Regions from separate parts of the Homo sapiens genome. Here all the other regions are linked to region 1. Evidence: promoter capture Hi-C in 16 types of primary human blood cells and fetal thymus (Javierre and others, 2016). All regions are on one chromosome and are shown on one strand. The core of a region is centred on a gene start or on the middle of the fragment in contact, and the rest is flanking DNA. Distances in the headings are between cores, read along the strand shown. Region 1 holds the start of AGTRAP (angiotensin II receptor associated protein). Region 2 overlaps MTOR (mechanistic target of rapamycin kinase). Region 3 has its middle 71 kb from the start of UBIAD1. Region 4 has its middle 4.2 kb from the start of MTOR. Region 5 has its middle 55 kb from the start of UBIAD1.

What was found. Contacts are between HindIII fragments. The CHiCAGO score rates a contact against its expected background, and 5 or more counts as called.
Region 2: a contact is called between a fragment that was not itself captured here and the fragment with the promoter of AGTRAP in region 1, in 10 of 17 cell types (total CD8 T cells, naive CD4 T cells, naive CD8 T cells and 7 more). The highest score is 12.9, in total CD8 T cells.
Region 3: a contact is called between a fragment that was not itself captured here and the fragment with the promoter of AGTRAP in region 1, in 2 of 17 cell types (naive CD8 T cells and total CD8 T cells). The highest score is 5.3, in naive CD8 T cells.
Region 4: a fragment that was not itself captured here is called in contact with the fragment with the promoter of AGTRAP in region 1 in 4 of 17 cell types (naive B cells, fetal thymus, total CD8 T cells and 1 more); the score reaches 5.6 in naive B cells.
Region 5: a contact is called between a fragment that was not itself captured here and the fragment with the promoter of AGTRAP in region 1, in 4 of 17 cell types (naive CD4 T cells, non-activated CD4 T cells, naive CD8 T cells and 1 more). The highest score is 5.2, in naive CD4 T cells.

The regions. Positions count from the first base shown.
Region 1 is chr1:11,734,851-11,737,550 of GRCh38, forward strand. It overlaps AGTRAP (angiotensin II receptor associated protein), which reads left to right and starts at 1,286. Exons shown (of 5, transcript NM_020350.5): 1 at 1,286-1,385. The coding sequence starts at 1,359. The HindIII fragment of the contact is 3,809 bases long and covers 1-2,390 here.
Region 2 is chr1:11,243,094-11,245,793 of GRCh38, forward strand. It overlaps MTOR (mechanistic target of rapamycin kinase), which reads right to left. Exons shown (of 58, transcript NM_004958.4): 9 at 21-207. Among named protein-coding and RNA genes, the nearest start is that of MTOR, 18 kb to the right of the region's middle. The HindIII fragment of the contact is 3,070 bases long and covers 1-2,700 here.
Region 3 is chr1:11,342,391-11,345,090 of GRCh38, forward strand. No RefSeq gene overlaps it. Among named protein-coding and RNA genes, the nearest start is that of UBIAD1, 71 kb to the left of the region's middle. RefSeq lists an enhancer at 1,215-1,715. The HindIII fragment of the contact is 1,744 bases long and covers 565-2,308 here.
Region 4 is chr1:11,265,450-11,268,149 of GRCh38, forward strand. No RefSeq gene overlaps it. Among named protein-coding and RNA genes, the nearest start is that of MTOR, 4.2 kb to the left of the region's middle. The HindIII fragment of the contact is 1,977 bases long and covers 381-2,357 here.
Region 5 is chr1:11,326,477-11,329,225 of GRCh38, forward strand. No RefSeq gene overlaps it. Among named protein-coding and RNA genes, the nearest start is that of UBIAD1, 55 kb to the left of the region's middle. The HindIII fragment of the contact is 1,862 bases long and covers 382-2,243 here.

The DNA.
Region 1 (2,700 bases), core at 36-2,535:
GAGGTGCCAGGTGAGGCAGGAGACAGCCCTTTCTTTCCTCATGTACAATTGGGGGAGGAATTTCTTATGGTTTTTCAGCTAGAGTTTTCTAAAACTTTTGGTATGCTGATTAAAGTGGGCTCCCACCAATTTGGCTCCTCAGGTGTTGCTTTTTGTTTGTTTGTTTTTCCCAGACAAGGTCTCACCCTGTCGTCCAGGCTGGAGTGTAGTGGCGTGATCTCGGCTCACTGCAGCCTCCCCGGTTCAAGCAATTCTCGTGCCTCAGCCTCCTGAGTAGCTGGGACTGCAGGTGCACACCACCATGCCCTGCTAATTTTGGTATTTTTAGTAGAGACGGGGTTTCACCATGTTGGCCAGGCTGGTCTCGAACTACTGAGTTCAGGTGATCCACCCTCCTTGGCCTCCCAAAGTGCTGGGATAACAGGGGTGAGCCACTGCGCCCAGCCTCATCTTGTGTTGGTAATAACAATAGCTTGTGTGTCCTGCCCATTTACTAAGTGCCGGGCACTGTTCTCTCCTAGAACAAACCGTAGTTAGACTCCTCTGAGTCCTCATCTTGACTAGGCCTCGGCCTTGGACCTCTGTGTCTTCCTGTCCTTGCTGGGCCTGAGCCTGCATAATAAACCAGTTTCAGCAAGAGTCCTGCTAAGTTAGCAAGAACTCCCCCATCCTTGATGTCTCCTCCTAGGAATCTTCCATTCCTGCTCCCTCATTCTGCTCTGGCTATAAATCCCTCCTTGGTCCTTGTTGTATTCGGTGTTGAGCCCAAACTCTCACTCCATGGCAATAACCCTACAGCAAGTCTTGAACAGTACTGGTTTAACAACAGTCCCAATAACGTTTTCTTTAACAACAGCAGTTAGCTCATTTAATCCTCATAAGGATCATATGAGGTAGGTAGCCTAAATAGCCCATTTACACAGGGAAGTGGGAAGGAGAGAGGGTGCCCCCAAGGATGAGACACAAGCTGTTGCCACATCAGCACTTTGCGCCTGGACGGTCCCCCAGTTGTCCTGGCTGCAGGCAGTCCGAACAGTCCGCTTCCTGGAATATTAGCCAGGCAGGATACGCCCTGGGCGACAGAAACTCCAACTTTCGCCAGCGGCCCCCAAGTACTGCCTGGGCGGTGGCGGGAGTCTGGAGCTTGGCTGAAGGCGCGAGCTGCCGACGCCGTCTCCTAGCAACCAAGCGGCGGTCACGTGACCCGCTCCAGCCCGTTTCACGTGGTCTTGAGCTGCGCTGGGGTTGGAGTGGCCGCAACGGGCGGGGCGGGGCGGGGCCGGGCAAGTTTGTTCCCCGAGTTCGGAGCCTAGGAGCCCCCCGCGGCTGCGGCGCAGGTGCCCTCGGCCTGAGTCGGGATGGAGCTGCCTGCTGTGAACCTGAAGGTGGCGACGGGCTGGGGGGAGGGTCCCCTTTGCGGGAGGAAGTGGGACATTTGCATTTTCCCGGAAGGTGGGAGGAAGGACCGGAGTTTTGGGGAAAGAGGGATGGTAGGGAGGAAGGGAAGGTACAGACCCCACGCAAGAAGGAGATGGGCAGGCAGGCCACAGCAGGGAGAGTGATCCAGGCACAGGCCAGCAGGGCGACACTGAGGGGCCGTGGGAGGTGGCAGCGGAGGGCAAGGGCCGCCCCCTCCCGGACTCAGACCCTCCCAGCGGGCAGCGCCGGTCCCAGCATTGCTGTTGCCTGCACGCCCAGAATTCCCCTGGAGGAGGAGGAAGGTGCGCGGGAGGGGCTTGTAGGCGGCTCACCTCCCCCGCGCGGGGTCAGGGACTGGGCTTGCCCCCCGGGTCCCAGCACCGTTTCAGGAGCCTCCTTGTTTGCTAAGTCGGGTTAAGGAAATCAGATGTTCCCAAGCAGTTGGTTTTATAAAGTTTACACATCCAGCGCCCTTATTTCATAATCAAGAAGCGCGAACTCCAACAGAAATTACTTAAAAGCAGAAAACCCCAACTTTGTGCACTGGGGAAAACACTGCAGGGCTTCCTGTGGTGTCTTCATTTCCCGAGCCGTGAGCTCAGTCCGGGTCTGGGTGCCAGCGGCTGTTCTTTTTCTCCCCGCCCAGCCCCGCCGCCCACGTGTCTGGGCTCCATTTGCATTAGAGGGGCTAGGGGCTGTAGTTTTGGTCAGGAAGGTGTGGACCTTGGACCAAACCGGCCATTTTGGGTCTTAGTGCAGCCTCCTTTGAGGCAATATCCAGGAATGTCCTCTTACTCATGAATGACAGAGCATTTAGCTCCCTGTTGGTGTCTGGGACTAAAGGAACCTGAGAAATAGATGGTTACAAAACAATGGCTTAATACACTTTATTATTACACAACATCTGTGCTATGACTTGCTATAGGCATGTTTCCCTTCTTAATCATACTTGCTTCAGCAAACCTTCCTGAAGCTTCCAGTCAAAGGTGGTGGGGAGACATGGCTGGAGCAAGGGAATGGGCTTGGATGGAACGTTCAGCTGGGAAGAAATTTACGTGACAGCAGCCGAGGCTTGTTGGTATCAATATGCACTCTATTCCAGGCAATGTGGGGTTAACACCAACTGCCTTTTCTCTGATGAGGGATTTGCTTAAAATAATTGCTGACAGAGGATCAGGTGAGGGCAGTGGGAGGGACAGAGCTCTAATTTATGGGCTTCTGTGGTGTGCCAGGTTATTTAATCAAGGCAGCCTTATGAGAAAGCTGATATGGTCATCTTTT
Region 2 (2,700 bases), core at 144-2,643, 490 kb before region 1:
ATCATAACAGAGGTGCTTACTTATGGGCGAAGTCCTTTGGGGGCAGGGCCGCTCGGATGATGTCCAGCACGCGAGGCAAATAGACCTTAAACTCAGACCTCACAGCCACAGAAAGTAGCCCCAGGGCTTGGAAGGCCGCTGTACGTTCCTTCTCCTTCTTGACACAGCTTAGGACATGGTTCATGGTATCTTGGAGATACTGGGTATCTGAGCACAGAAAAGACAAAGTAGATAGCTCCAGGTCAGGGTTAGGGTCTACATATCAACAGTCAAAGGTCCTATAAAGCAATTCAGTTTAAGAATAAATTAAGAAAGTGGCCAGGCACAGTGGCTCACACCTGTAATCCCAACACTTTGGGAGGCCAAGGAGAGAGGAGTGTTTGAGGCCAGGAGTTCGAAACAGCCTGGGCAACACAGTGAGACCCTGTCTCTACAAAAATAAAAATTAGCCAGGTGTGGTGGTGCATGCCTGTAATCCCAGCTACTCGGGAGGCTGAGGCAGGAGGATCACTTGAGCCCAGATGGTTGAGGCTGCAGAAAGGTGTGATCGTGTGCAGCACTGCACTCAAGCCTGAGTGACAAAGAGCCTGTCTCAAAAAAAAAAAAAAACCCAAAAAACGTAAAAGGTTGCCAAAACAATATCACAGAATTGTCTCCATTACTGTTACATTTTCACACAAGAATTACATGCTCTTGCTGAAGAAATATATGTCAAACCTTGTTTAAAAACAGAAGATCATCTAAACAATTTTACATTATAATGAAATTTGAAGTACAGTCATGGGCCGGGTGCAGTGTCTCACACATGTAATCCCAGCACTTTGGGAGGCTGAGGAACATCACTTGAGTCCAGGAGTTTGAGGCCGCACTGAGCCAAGAGCCATGCACTCCAGCCTGGGCAACAGAATAAGACCCTGTCTCAGATGCAGTGGCTCATGCCTGTAATCCCAGCACTTTGGGACACCAAGGCAGGAGGATCACCTGAGGTCAGGAGTTTGAAACCAGCCTAACCAACATAAAGAAACCCCATCTCTACTAAAAATACAAAATTAGCCGGACATAAGGGTGCATGCCTGTAATCCTAGCTACTCAGGAGACTGAGGCAGGAGAATCGCTTGAACCCGGGAGGCGGAGGTTGCGGTGAGCCGAGATCACGCCATTCCACTCCAGCCTGGGCAACAAGAGCAAAACTACATCTCATTTAAAAAAAAAAAAAAAAAAAAGACCCCATCTCAAACTAATAAAAAACCAGTACAGGGTCGGGCGCGGTGGCTCACGCCTGTAATCCCAACACTTTGGGAGGCCAAGGCGGGTGGACTGCCTGAGCTCAGGAGTTTGAGACCAGCCTGCACAACATGATGAAACCCCGTCTCTACTGAAATACAAAAAATTAGCCAGGCATGGTAGTGCGCCTGTAATCCCAGCTACTCGGAAGGCTGACGCAGGAGAATCACTTGAACCCGGGAGGCAGAGGTTGCAGTGAGCCAAGATCGTGCCACTGCACTCCAGCCTGGGCAACAGAGCAAGACTCTGTCTCAGAAAAACAAACAAACAAACAAAAAAACAGTACAGTCGTGTGCCACTTAACAACGTTTGGGTTAACAATGGACCATGTATATGATGGTGGTCCCATAAGATTATAATACAGTATATTTTTACATATCTTTTCTATGTCTATGTTTAGATACACAAACATTTACCACTGTTTTACAGTTGCCTAGAATATTCATTACAGTAACATGCTGTACAAGTTGTAGCCCAGGAGCAATAGGCTACACCACAGAGCTAGGTGTAGAGTAGGCTATACCATCTGGGTTTATGTAAATACATTCTATGATGTTCACACAAGGACAAATTCTCCTAAGACGCATTTCTCAGAATGTATCCCCATCGTTAAGCAATATATGACTGTAATACTGAGCACTGTTTGCAATAAACAGGCCATTCCATTCAGCATAGGCCTGGAAATCATTTTGCTATTACCTAGAGATTTTTATGACAGTTATATTTAATAGAAGAAGATTTAGTCTATAATTTGGAAAGCCACATGTATATTTTCATTAGGTTCACATAAGCCAGTGTGCATGGGTAGGCGATTCTCATACAATCCAAGCTAAAGTGTTATTTCTCCTCTGAAGGCTGGAATTTCCTGATTCTTGCTTCTTGTCTATTTATTTCTTCTCTTCCATTGATGTTGGTCCCAAGTCCAGGCACCAGTAGTACACATAAAATAGGAGAGAAGGGAAAACCACACATCCCTTAGGAAGTTAGGGATACTGAAAGCTACCAGAACCACATTTAGACAATGAATTAGACTTCTAAAATAGCACATGCTATGACTGCATTTACTCTGAGAAATGTTTTCTCCCATGGCTCTTGTGGTCAAATGACAATGAGGCATGCTGGGGCTTGAAGACAGGTGACCAAGGAGATACAACCCTAAAATTAGAGTGGGTCAACAAGAAAAACTAAGGGGATAGCATTTCGGCAGGAAACGGGGTAAAATCAAGAGCATAATTTCCTGGCAAGGCGCCACAGCTCATGTCTGTAATCCCAAGCACTTTGGGAGGCCAAGGCAGGAGAATTGCTTGAGCCCAGGAGTTCAAGACCAGCCTGGGCAACACAGTGAGATCCCAAATCATCTCTACAAAAAATAAATTTAAAAAATTAGCCAGGAGTGGAGACTCATGCCTGTGGTCC
Region 3 (2,700 bases), core at 187-2,686, 390 kb before region 1:
GGCCTCTGCACACCAGGTCCCAGGCCGCAGCTGTGGCAGACATCCCTAATCAATCACAGGACTCCTTCGTGCTGAGCCCAGATGCAACCTCAGAATCCTGGAAAGCCCATATGGGGTTGATTTATAAAAGGAAGCATTGGCCATTTTTGCTGCAGGGGCAAGCTGTCCTGGGGGGCCTTTCCTGGGGGATAGGGAACAGCATTGGCCTAATCTCGGGTCTTGGAACCCTGTTCTTGAACCCTTGGCAGCATTCTCTGCCGGATTTATAAAGTGACTGCAGCTCTGGAACATGAGACAAAATTAGTGCAGCCTCAGAGAGCGCTGTCTCGAAATTGGCTTTCCAGCGAGCGGCTGGGTCTCCTACTCTCCCCACAGGTGGGGCTGTTTGAGTCCCTGGTAGGATTTGTTCCAGCTGCCAGACATGGATTAGGCTTTTGACTGTTGAACCCAGACAAGGGGACCAGCTGTTTAATGAGCTGGAGGAGGAAGTGGCTCCTGAAAGCAAGTCCTTTTCTTGGCTCAGGCATGCAGATCAGACATGGAACCAGGAAAGCTGCCTCGCCAAGCTTGGTAACCAGAGGGAAATGAATGATAGTGATCTGACAGGGAAGGATAAGGACAGGGGAGAAGAGGGGAGGTGGGGAGAGGAGCAGGAGGGGAGGAGCCAGGAGGGAAATCATGGACCAGCCTTTGCCTAGACCCCAGGGCTCTGCTGCAGGCTCCACTCCTCTTGGCTTCTTTTGCTATCAGAATCATTGTGCCTTGGATCCTGGAGATCCCGAGGCATGTAGATGATCTAGGGGTAGGCTAGATACAGATTTACATTGATACCTGGAGACAGGATAACCTGGGTTCAAATTCCTGTTCCTCATTGACTTGCCTCCGTTTCCTCATCTACAAAATGGGCTTCGTGTTTCCATGAGCAGGGGCGTAATGCTCTCAGACTTCCCCACCCTGTCACATTCTGCCATTCAGCTTTTGGTAGATGTTCAAACTGCCATTTGGACCTTTATCCATGGGATTTCAGTGTCTCTCTCTTGATTGGATCTGAACTTGGTGGAGGAGGTGGTGGGTTTATTCATTAGAACCCACTGAACATTAATGGCACCCACCCACGTGTTTGATGTGACGATTAAGCAGGTGAAGGTGTTTGTAGCTGCTTGTATCCTCCATGTCTAGATATATAGCTAATCCATACCTGTGCATATCTATACCTATCAATACACACTGGGGCCCAGCACAGATCGGTGCTTAGTTTGTTTGCTTTTTGAGACAGTGTCTTGCTCTGTTGCCCAGGCTGGAGTGCAGCGGCATGATCTTGGCTCACTGCAACCTCCACCTCCCAGGTTCAAGCAATTCTCATGCCTCAGCTTCCTGAGTAGCTGGGATTGCAGGTGCCTGACACCAGGCCTGGCTTGTTTTTTTTTTTTTTTTTTTTAGTAGAGACAGGGCTTCACCATGTTGCCAGGTTGGTCTCGAACTCCTGGCCTCAAGCAATCCGCCCGCCTCAGCCTCCCAAAGTGCTGGGATTACAGGTGTAAGCCACTGCACCTGGCCAGATTGGTGCTTAGTTTAATTTCAGCTGGCGAGTCCTTCCCGTCCAGCCTCCTCCTAATGTGCCATTGTGGGGAGAGGGCAGGGAAGGTCTGAGAGCAGCCTCATGCCTTCCTGGAAGAGTGGGCCTGTCCTGGGGCCTGGAAAGCAGGGATGTGGTGGCAGCTCCCCAGGCAGCTTCCTGCTCCTCAGCTGAGATTTGGAATGAGTGATCCCCTCCCTGCGCAAACCCAGGTAGTCCTCAGGGAGGCAGGTGAGGGGAAGGTTTCAACCCCGCTTCTGCCACCAACAGCAAGGGGTGACCTGGGGGAAGTGAGTAGGTTGGGCCTGGGCTTGGGGCTCCGAGGAGATGGGTGGCAGGGCACAGCCTCCTAGAAAGTCAGGGAAGCAGGGCTAGCTCCAGTCACTGTCCCAACTGTCACCCAGTTTATGGAGAACTGCTCTGTGCCAGGCCCAGTGCTGAATAAGACACGCACGGTCCTGGCTCTCAGGCAGTTGATATTAACATGCTATCCTTCATGAAAATCATGAGAGTGCTGTCGGCCACAGTTCCGCAAAGAAGCTGTTGGGGCCACGTGCATTTCAGATTTCAAAATTGTTTTCAGATTTTATTAATGTAATGTTCCCTATATTACAGACGACTCCAACATATTCATATTTCTGTAGCGAAATACATGTGAATAGTGGGATACAGACTGTTAAGTATCTCTAAGGTCAGTTCAGTTTAGGTTTTGCTGCCAAATGAGTTTTGAAAAGCTTTTTGGTCTCAGAGCTTTGGGGATGTTGGAATGGCAGAGGAGGGATGAGGGACTGACCACTTCCCGAGCTCTGAGAAGCACTGGGCCGAGCACTTTCACTGGCTGAATACATTAAACGCTCACAACAGCCCTATGAGGTCCGTTCTATTTTTGTCATTCTGACTGTACAGAAGAGGAGATCCAGGCACAGAGAGGTTAAGTAATTCACCGAAGTTCACACAGCTAGTAAGAGGCAGAGCTTGGATTCAAACCCCTCGGGGGCCAAAGCCTGCCAAGGTCACATAGTTTACAATCCAATGTGTGGTGGGCAGGTTGGGGAGGTGGAGGGAGCACTAGCACAAAGATGGTTACAGTGCAGTGGAAGAAGTGCCAGAACTGGGGGGTCCAG
Region 4 (2,700 bases), core at 119-2,618, 470 kb before region 1:
CTCCTGTGAGATAAGTATTCCTCTAAATTTTACATTTTCACTGATGTTCAATTTTTTTTTTTTTTTTTTTTTTTAGATGGAGTCTCGTTCTGGTACCCAGGCAGGAGTGCAGTGGCGCAATCTCGGCTCACTACAACCACCGCCTCCTGGGTTCAAGTGATTCTCGTGCCTCAGCCTCCTGAGTAGCTGGGATTACAGGCACCTGCCACCACACCCAGCTAATTTTTGTATTTTTAGTAGAGACAGGGTTTCGCCATGTTGGCCAGGCTGGTCTTGAACTCCTGACCTCAGGTGATCCGCCTGCTTCAGCCTCCCAAAGTGCTGGGATTACAGGCGTGAGCCATTGTGCCTGGCCCAACATCTATATTTTTATCATTAAAAGCTTCTAATATGCAATATAGTCGCTATTCAAATCTCAAAATAAACAAGTTACATTTATCATGAAAAGTCTTGCTCCACCCTTGCCCCTTGACTATGTATTTTCTCAGTTTCTTATGCATCCCTAGATTTTCTGTCTGCAAAAACAAGCAAATATATACGTATGTATATTCCTTTTTTTTTTTTTTTTTTTTTTTGAGACAGAGTCTCACTCTGTCGCCCAGGCTGGAGTGCAGTGGCATGATCTTGGCTCACTGCAACCTCTGCCTCCCAGGTTAAAGTGATTCTCCTGCCTCAGCTTCCCCAATAGCTGGGATTACATGTCTGTGCCATCATGCGTGGCTAATTTTTTTATTTTTAGTAGAGACAAGGTTTCACCACATTGGCCAAGCTGGTCTCAAACTCCTGACCTCAGTTGATCCGCTTGCCTCAGCCTCCCAAAATGCTAGGATTACAGGCACGAGCCACCATGCCCAGCCCATACATATATTTTTATTTTCCCCTTTTGTTATACTATACGCACTATTTTGCATTTTTAAAATTTTACTGCATCTTGTAGATCTTTCTCTTGTAGTTCCAACAGGATTCTATGCCTGCTGCACAGCAACAGTTGACCAATGCAATGAGACAGCAGAGTCTGCAGCAGAGAAAGAGTTTAGTGATCGCAGGGCAGCCAACTGAGGAGATGGGAGTGTTACCAGCGCTGAATTTACATGGTCTGCAGCAAGCTCAGTTCTTGCCTCCTCAGAAGAAAGAATTCAACTGAGGGGCATAAGGCAGAGTGAGAGACTGAGGCAAGTTTTAGAACAGGAGCGAAGTTTATTAAAGAGCTTTAGAGCAGGAATGAAAGGAAGTAAAGGACACTTGGAAGAGAACCAAGCAGTTGACCTGAGAGATCAAGTGCGCTGTTTGACCTTGACTCGGGGTTGGCATACTTCCAGGGTCTTGCATCCCTTCTCCCCTGATTCTTCCCTTGGGGTGGGCTGTCCACATGCATGGTGGCCTGTCAGCACTTGGGTAGGGGCGCATGTGCAGTGTGTTTACTGGAGTTGTGGGCATGCTCACTCAAGATGTGTTTCCCTTACCAGTCCAGTGTTCCTAGAGGAAGATCATCGGCGATTTTGCCTGTTAGTGATCATCTGCGATTTTGCCTCTTAGTGCCCATGCTTGAGCCTACTCGCCCAGCTCCTGAGATCTTATGGGAAGCTGCTGATCACCAGTTTCAGGTGTTTCTATCTTTTGGGAGACTGCCTTTCTCTGGCACCAGCTGCAATCAATTATTATTTTAGCGAGATAGCTTAACAACTGCCTGACCATCACCCAATGGTTGCTTGACATTCCTGGGGTTAGGGGGTGGGGGCCTCTCCTGCTCTGCTCATGCCTGACTAGCTATCTACTGTAACAGGAGGAGACCTTCAAATCCATCTCCCCAAGGAATTCTGAGCTGGGTTTGTTTGTTTGTTTGTTTGTTTTGTTTTTTCTTGAGACAGAGTCTCGCTCTGTTGCCCAGGCTGGAGTGCAGTGGCAGGATCTCAGCTCACTGCCACCTCTGCCTCCCAGGTTCAAGCAATTCTTGTGCCTCAGCCTTTTGAGTAGCTGGGATTATAGGTGTGTGCCACCATACCCGGCTAATTTTTGTATTTCTAGTAGAGACACGGTTTCACCGTGTTGGTCAGGCTGGTCTCAAACTCCTGACCTCTTGATCTGCCCACCTCGGCCTCCCAAAGTGCTGGGATTACAGGAGTGAGCCACCGTGCCCGGCCTGAGCTGGGGTTTTTAAGGGGATTGTAGAGGGGGAGAGGCTGGAAATTTGGTATCGTTTATGGGTTGGGGTAAAGGGGGTGAAATCATCAGGATGTAGAAACTGCATTCTTTGGTGAGTTAGCTCCCTGTGGGGTCTTTCACAATGGCTGTCATCAGTAGTTTCACTGATATGCAGGACCTGAAAGAATACCTCAGGTGGAAAACAATGTTTTGCAAGCTTAAGTTGTCTGATGACAGGGTCCGCATGATTCTGGGACAGTAGGCAGCAAACAACTATGAGGAAATGGCTCAGAGTTCAACATGACCTCATGATGAATGCTGAATGTGCTGCAAGCTTTGTTTATTTTCATTTCTCTCCCTCCCTTCCTCCCTGATTTATTTTATTTTATTTTGAGATGGAGTCTCACTCGGAGTGCAGTGGTGTGATCTCAGTTCACCGCAACCTCCACCTCCCGGGTTCAAACGATTCTCCTGCCTCAGCCTCCCGAGTGGCTGGGATTACAGGTGTGCGCCACCATGCCAGCTAATTTTTGTACTTTTTTTTTTTTTTTGAGACCA
Region 5 (2,749 bases), core at 63-2,562, 410 kb before region 1:
CTTTTTTTTTTTTTTTTAGACAGAGTCTCGCTCTGTCGCCCAGGCTGGAATGCATGGGGGTGATCTCAGCTCACTGCAAACTCTACCTCCCAGGTTCAAGTGATTCTTCTGCCTCAGCCTCCCAAGTAGCTGGGACTACAGGCGTGTGCCACCACCAAATTAGAAGGAATGCTAATTTCAGAGGGAGAGATACATTCTGGGAAGGAGAACTTACAGAACGCCCAGCTAATTTTTGTATTTTTAGTAGAGACGGGGTTTCACCATGTTGGCCAGGCTGGTCTTGAACTCTTGATCTCAAGTGATCTGCCCACCTGGGCCTCCCAAAGTGCTGGGATTACAGGCGTGAGCCACCGCTCTCGGCCTCATCACCTCCTTTCTGCAAGCTTCTCCTTGGGGAGTGCAGTGTGGCAGCCAAGGGCTTGGGCTTTGGACCCAGAGTGCCTGGGGTTCACATCCTGGCTTTTGCTTGGGCCAGGGACTTCAGTTCTCATACTCAGCTTTCTCCCTTAGGAAAGGTGAAAGTCACCCTCCTAAGGTCAAGGTGATGCTGCTGGTGCAGCGAGTAGCTCAGAAAGGGGCAGCTGAGGCAGGCAGCTTTCCCTGGGGTCTCTGGCCCTAAGCCCCCCGACCTGTGGCCGTTAGGCCCAGTGGGACAGTGGTTCCTCCCCCTGGCCCTCCAGGTGGCATCCGGCCCTCTGCGGCTGCAAGCCATGGGCACCAAGGACGGTTCTGAAGTCGCCCTGAGTTTATGAGGCTGAGCGGAGAGGACGAGGCATGTTAAGTGTAATAGGGTTGTGTGAGATTAATGTGAGGCCGGGTGAAGCAGCTAAGGCAAGTCATTTTGGCAGTTAATACATACATTTAAGGAATGATTTGAGAGTGTGAAAACATTTAAAAGGAATGCTAATTTCAGAGGGAGAGATACATTCTGGGAAGGAGAACTTGCAGAGGACAGAGCTGGGGTGGAGCCAGGATGGAGGTGCCAGGTGACCCTGCTCAGAATTCAGCCCCCTACAGAGTTTGTCCAGGTCCTTCCAGGGCCTCTCTGTGCCCACCTGTCTCCAGGAGCACAGGCCTCTCGGAAGACCTGAAGCGGGCACTGAGTGGGAAGAGCTGGGCTGGAACCTTGTGGAAGCAGGGTCCTTGTCTGCCCGCATTATGGAGCACAGGGAGTGGAGAGGGTGCAGCTCAGGGGGCTTTGTGAAAAGGGTATTGCTTGAACTGAGCTTTGAAAATGGGTTGGGAGGAGAGGGTGGAAGCAAGTGGATTTGGACTTTTCATCCAGGAGAGAAAGGTGCTCCGTGACTGAGCCTGTGATCCGGGTAGGATAGGGCGGCCCATATAATAGGGGAGACTCAGCTTCTTCAGGCCTGCGTGCAGGCTTCACTAGGGTCCTGGAGAGCAGGAGGCCAGGAAGAGCAGCCTCCTCCTCCTCAGGGAGCTCTCCCTCTCCTGGACCCTCTGGATGGGAAAGGTGGAGTCTCTCTGCTCTGAAGTGGTTTTTTTTTTTTTTTTTTTTTTTTTTTTGAGACAGGGTCTCGCTGTGTCTCCCAGGCTGGAGTGCAGTGGCACAATCACAGCTCACTGCATCTTCGCAGCTTCGACTTCCCGGGCTCAGTTGATCCTCCTGCCTTAGCCTCTCAAGTAGCTGGGACTACAGGTATACACCACCACGCCCGGCGAATTTTTGTATTTTTTTGTAGAGATGGGGTTTTGCCATGTTACCCAGGCTGGTCTCGATCTCCCGGACTCAAGTGATCCGCCCGCCTTGGCCTCCCAAAGTGCTGGGATTACAGGCATGAACCACCGCGCCCGGCCCCACATGCTCCTTGACGGCACAAGCCTCCTCAGCCCTGCTAGTGAGATTGGAGGCAGGCCCTTCCTTCCTGGAGTTTGATCTTTCAGCACCAGAAAGTGTGTGATCCGGGAATCTCCTGGGAACCCCTCGGCTCTAAGACCTCAGCCCTCCCATCCACTGATCCAGCCTAAAAGTGGAATGAGCTGATCCTCAGCTTGCCCGTCCCATCTCCACTAGAGGCCCAAGAGCCAAGGAGTTAGTGCCGTCACAGCTGGCTGCGATGAAGGCCTTTAAAAGTGCCTGGTGTGGTTATTAATAATGTCTCCCGGCTCTGAATGCCTCTTTAATTCCTCTGCTTAAACCACTCTGGAATCCATAACACTTGCCCCTTAGCCTGTGGTAATTCCGCTCCCTTAATGGCCTTTTATGGAGGGAGCTTATTGAAAGCTTTTCCCCACCGTGAGTAAATCATGTCCTCTGGGTCATCCTTGCCTGCAATTTTATTAACTTCTTATGAGAAGTCAGAGGGACCAGAGGCAGGCCAATGTTTCCTCCGTGTTCTGTCCTGCCCGGGCCCGGCACTGTCCCTTTCCTGGCTGGGATCTCAGAGGAGGAGATGGCTGGGGACGTTGGAAATCAATAATGTTTGGAATGTCTCAACCCAGTGCCCCTGACTCCTTCACTCTCATCTGTCAATCCTTCCAGGTGGGTAGGAGCTGGGAGACCAGGCACTGTGAATGGGAGAAGCAGGGGACACTGGGAAGCAGGGACAAGTGCCAGGAGGGACAGGATACGCATCAGTTACCTGATTCACTGGTTACCTGGTGCATCAGCTACCTGGTTCATTGGCTGGTTACCTGGTGCATTGCTTATCTGGCGCATCAGTTACCTGGTGCATTGGCTACCTTGTGCATTGGTTACCTTGTGCATTGGTTACCTGGGGCGTTGATT